Regions from separate parts of the Homo sapiens genome. Here region 2 is linked to region 1. Evidence: promoter capture Hi-C in human tissues and cell types (Jung and others, 2019). All regions are on one chromosome and are shown on one strand. Each heading gives the region's core, a stretch centred on a gene start or on the middle of the fragment in contact. The rest is flanking DNA. Distances are from core to core; before and after follow the strand shown. Region 1 holds the start of GPC6 (glypican 6). Region 2 overlaps GPC6 (glypican 6).

What was found. The method cuts DNA at HindIII sites, captures the fragments that hold promoters and counts their contacts. A contact is called where the count stands out against the background at its distance.
Region 2: a fragment that was not itself captured here is called in contact with the fragment with the promoter of GPC6 in region 1 in 2 of the 25 tissues and cell types used here (mesenchymal stem cells and pancreas).

Annotation. Positions count from the first base shown.
Region 1 is chr13:93,225,520-93,228,219 of GRCh38, forward strand. GPC6 (glypican 6) reads left to right here and starts at 1,288. Exons shown (of 9, transcript NM_005708.5): 1 at 1,288-2,097. The coding sequence starts at 1,938. RefSeq lists an enhancer at 1,881-2,700. The HindIII fragment of the contact is 15,285 bases long and covers 1-2,700 here.
Region 2 is chr13:93,805,876-93,808,630 of GRCh38, forward strand. The region is part of intron 2 of GPC6 (glypican 6); the gene reads left to right. Among named protein-coding and RNA genes, the nearest start is that of GPC6-AS2, 51 kb to the right of the region's middle. The HindIII fragment of the contact is 5,761 bases long and covers 1-2,755 here.

The DNA of each region.
Region 1 (2,700 bases), core at 38-2,537:
TTTGGTTTTGTTTTGTCTTGACCTATGAGTTTGAAGAAGACAAAGTGGCTCTGTAAATAAGTCGACTTCATTTTTAAAGCGTTTGGAAAGGTTAAATGAGGTTGAATCTTGAGAGTCTTTTTGGTGGTTAGGAGAGGGGGAATTTATTAAAGAGAGGAAGACAATGTACCTAATATGTTGTGATGATAATGACAAACTCAAAGATTTAAACTTCATGAGTCATTCTGGTCATTCATATCATCATCAGGAAAACATCTTCATGTGTAGCTTCATAGGTGAGCTCCACAAAACTGTGCATTACCTTGTAGTAGTTTGTGAATAATGTGCTGACCTATGACACATAGCCACGTAAGTGAATAAACACTATTATTATTATTATTTTGTCTTGGTTTTCATTAAACTATCTTAGTAGTTTCAGGAGCTCTGGGTTTCAACACACACTTCTGCCAGCTGACTTTAGTGCGTCCATTAGCATAACAAAGTCAATTAGGCAAACCTGAATTTTCACTTTTATCCCGTTCACAGAACATCAGTGTAAATGGAGACAGGAAGAAGAAATTGGATTGATTCTCCACTTGAGAATTATGTTAACTTGGAAGAAAATGTTAAGTCTACTATGTGAGGGCATCTAGTGAGAGGGAAGGAATCACCTCCCTTCCCCCATTATGTCCCTTTATGCACCTCTGACCCTTGTGCTCTCCTTTTCTTGTTGCTTCTGTGGTCTGGTTGTTAGCTTTCCCGATCCTCCACACATTAGAAACCTAAGCATAATGATTTCTGATCGAAGGCTATGAGATATTTGAAATAAAAAAAGGGGAAATTGTTGAGTCTAGAACCAAACCTTTAAAAATTAAGAACTACCAGTCTGTAATGTGTGCCTTTAGAAAAAAACAAAGTCAAACAGAAATTAGGCAACTAGTTAGAGCCGTGATTGTGCTCTGCCACCCATGAACTCCCGTCTATGACTATTTCCACTCTGGCTTTGTGTTTCAGTAGGTCAGGGACACATATTAAGAGCAACAATTGGAACTGCGTTATCCTTTACCTCCATAAAAATACAGCTTAATAACATGTTAATGACTTAAAATTACCTTGTCTTTCTAGATTGTTTATTGATGTCATTTCAGATCGGTATAAAGGATGTGAAGTGAATAAGAAAATAGGTACGTTTCTTTTTCTTTTTTTCCCCTTTCTACCGACTAGGAAGAGATCCAGTCCAGGTTTTGCCTTTGACTCGGCCTGTGAATTTCGGCTGTGCAATGTGTAGCACGTTTCTTTCTCCCCCCTCCTTTCTCCTTCCCTCTTGCCTCCAGTGACTGTCTCCAGGATTTCTCTCTTCCTATTTCAGGAGGACTCTCACAGGCTCCCACAGCCTGTGTTAAGCTGAGGTTTCCCCTAGATCTCGTATATCCCCAACACATACCTCCACGCACACACATCCCCAAGAACCTCGAGCTCACACCAACAGACACACGCGCGCATACACACTCGCTCTCGCTTGTCCATCTCCCTCCCGGGGGAGCCGGCGCGCGCTCCCACCTTTGCCGCACACTCCGGCGAGCCGAGCCCGCAGCGCTCCAGGATTCTGCGGCTCGGAACTCGGATTGCAGCTCTGAACCCCCATGGTGGTTTTTTAAACACTTCTTTTCCTTCTCTTCCTCGTTTTGATTGCACCGTTTCCATCTGGGGGCTAGAGGAGCAAGGCAGCAGCCTTCCCAGCCAGCCCTTGTTGGCTTGCCATCGTCCATCTGGCTTATAAAAGTTTGCTGAGCGCAGTCCAGAGGGCTGCGCTGCTCGTCCCCTCGGCTGGCAGAAGGGGGTGACGCTGGGCAGCGGCGAGGAGCGCGCCGCTGCCTCTGGCGGGCTTTCGGCTTGAGGGGCAAGGTGAAGAGCGCACCGGCCGTGGGGTTTACCGAGCTGGATTTGTATGTTGCACCATGCCTTCTTGGATCGGGGCTGTGATTCTTCCCCTCTTGGGGCTGCTGCTCTCCCTCCCCGCCGGGGCGGATGTGAAGGCTCGGAGCTGCGGAGAGGTCCGCCAGGCGTACGGTGCCAAGGGATTCAGCCTGGCGGACATCCCCTACCAGGAGATCGCAGGTAAGCGCGGGCGCGCTGCAGGGGCAGGCTGCAGCCCTCGGCTGCCGCACGTCCCACTGGCCGCCCGGCGTCCCCTTCCTTCCCCCTGTTGCTGAGTTGGTGCTCACTTTCTGCCACCGCTATGGGACTCCGCGTCTCCGTGTTGGGCGGCGGATGCTCCTGCGGCTTCTTCGGCGGGGGAAGGTGTGCGTCTCCGCCGCCTCATTGTGTGCACACGCGGGAGCACCCTGGCTCCCGCCTCCCGCTGCTCTCGCGCCCTTCTACCCCTTAGTTGATGGCTCAGGCCCGGCTGGCCAGGGAGCCCGGGTCACTCCGGGGCGGCTGCAAGGCGCAGACGGAGAGCCGAGCCGGGCGCTCACTCCGCGTTCTGGTTCGGGCAAACTTGGAAGAACTGCGACCGCAGTTTGCCCAGCGCCACAGTCTGAGTGGCGCCTTCTCCACTCCCGCCCTTGCGCCGGCAGGGGCGGTGGAGAGACGCGGAGGGCTCCCCCAGCCCCTCTCTCCCCTATCCGTCCTTCGGGCGACAGAGCGCCCGGCGCTCGGGCCGGGGGCGGGCAAGGCTGGGAGGGACCCTCGCCGGGGACCTGGCCTCTGGACGCCGGC
Region 2 (2,755 bases), core at 127-2,626, 580 kb after region 1:
CTGTAGCCTAAGCTTCTTAGAAAATAAATGAGGCTATAAGTCCTCATTTAGCCCTTCTTAGTCCTGTGGATTCTGGCTGAGGATTTGAGTCTCGTCAGTCATTCACCACGCTATGCCTTAGGTCACTGTGCTCTCCTTCTTTGGCTCTTTCAATTTTCTCTTTGTAGAAACCTGTAAAGATGTTTTTATAGAAATTTCAGTATTAAATCAGCTACACATATTTTGAATAAGAATGCTTTTCTTTGAACACCATGGAATGCATGCTTACTGGCAACCTTGAGATCACTTGGAAAATAACCGGGAATGGAGGAGAGGTTCTTAAGCCACACCTTGGTTGTCATTAGTCTACTCAATTTGGAGAGTATGTTCATGGGCCTCTGTTCCATTGTGCATTGGCTGGATGCATATGTTGAGCAATGGGGACAACGTATAATTTTTTTTTCACTTGCCACAATTTTATTCATTTTTATTTTTTATTTGAGATGGAGTTTTACTCTTGTCACCCAGGCTGGAGGGCAATGGCGCAGTCGCGGCTCACTGCAACCTCTGCCTCCTGAGTTCAAACAATTCTCCCGCCTCAGTCTCCCAAGTAGCTGGGATTAAAGGTGTACATACCACCATGGCCAGCTAATTTTTGTATTTTTAGTAGAGATGGGGTTTCACCATGTTGGCCAGGCTGGTCTCGAACTCCTGACCTCAGGTGATCTGCCCTCCTTGGCTTCCCAAAATTCTGGGATTACAGGTGTGAGTCACCACATCCGGCCCACTTGGCACAGTTCTAGATTGAGGTAAATATTAATCTAGGTTTTGCTTAAATTCCTGTGGACAGACAGATAAAATATACAATGTTAGGATTCTTAGCTAACAAGGGATACTGCCAAATGATAAAATATTAATTCTATTACTTTGTATGCAGATATGTGAGAACTAGAAGCAATTACCCTGACTCTAATTGCTTCATAGATGAATACAATTATGATGTTATACTCATCCTGTCTGTATTCTCAGTATAAAATAACATCAACATAAGACAGTCAGAAATTTCATTTAAAAGTAAACCTTACCAATGTGAAATATATTAAGGCAATAAACCAAGAGATTAAACTTTCATAAACAGTAAGAGCTTATTGTTTTGTAAATGAGTGTATAATAATATCTTTGCAGCTCAAATGAAACCATAAAACTGACTGGGGGCCTCACTTTTTTCAGCAAACTTTTGATTTATCTTTTTAATCTGTTCTTAGCATTGTATAGCAATTAAACACTGGAAATGGGCTTTACACTTCTTGCCACATTGCTCTTCTCCCGTTTCACTTCTGTCATTTCTTTTATAATGACAAGCAATTTAGAGGAACAAGAAACAATTAAAATGTAAGTAGCTCCTGCTGTTACAGGTGTTCTCCACTAATGAATAAAAATGACTGGGATTATAGAAAGGTGAGATTTAAGGAAAGATCTCTTTTGGGTGTTAGAAAATTTAAAGATTTGTGGACAAATTCAGAAGGTAAGCACAGATTCCCAAGACGTAATTCCTCAGGGGAATTTGATAAAGTCAATTAGTTGTTGAAAGTACCACATACAGAGGCTGGCCAAATGAAATTGTCAGTAGTTTTAGTGGGCATGGGAAGTGTGTGATGTGCCTGAACTGGAGTTACTGATTCAGACAAAATGGCATGAAGGCAAGAACTTACATTCCAACAAGTTTCCGGTTGGTTCTGACACCACTGATCCAGGGAACACACTTTGAGAGCCACTGGTCTAACAGAGGCCAATGACTTTTGCATTCTTTCTGTCCACTTCCTCTTGAAAAACACTCAATGCTTGATAGAAATACTTCAAGGCTGTGACGGCTTGACACTGGTGTATGGTAGACTCCCGTAGGGTAGTAGTAGACTCACTTGCGATAAATAAATTCACAGATAATCAAATGTCTTACAAAAGGTTATATACTTGAACATACTGGAAACTCAAGACCCTTTCCCTTCTAATTCAGTGCTATGCTGTCTTCAGTAATCTGTATCCATGACAAAGAGGTTTCTGGGACATCGGTCACTCCCCTAAAGGCAACAGTTTAAGGAATTATAATTTTGTTTTAAATTATGAGTCTGACTTAATGAAGAGTAGATGGGTGACTTAGACAACATTGTACTTATGAAATTAAGTAGGCCACTTACACTTCACTTTCCTGAGTCACCCTAGTGTCTGTATAATACAAAGGAGGCCAAATAATTTCTTGGTTATAAAACCTCAGTTCTAAATGTTAACATTTTATTCAGCAAAGACTAGATTAATTTAGATTAATGGGATAGTTATTACTATACACTATATAGCTCTATGTGTAAGTTGTAAAAACAATTTTAAAAATTAGAACATTTTCATCCTATTCTGAATATTACACAAAATATATTTCTTGTAAAGATGACACATGTAAAGATCACACATGCTCTTGTAAAGAGCCTTATCTAAAGACTCCAAGTGCTAATTTAACAGGTATACACAAAGGAAAAGGGAAAAAATATCATGTAAATTGTAAGAATTAGCCTGATCTTTAAGTACATAATAACTCCTCTCTCTATATGAGATGCTTTCAGCCAAGGTCTTCTATCCTCAACATTTGTCTTCCAAATAATCTGTTGGATAACTAAGTTTCCTTTAATGTGAGCTGAAATATTTCATTCAATTTTTAAAGTTTTAGTTCCTGTCAAAAAATACAAATGCCAGCCACTGTGACAGACTTTGAACTTACATATTGTTA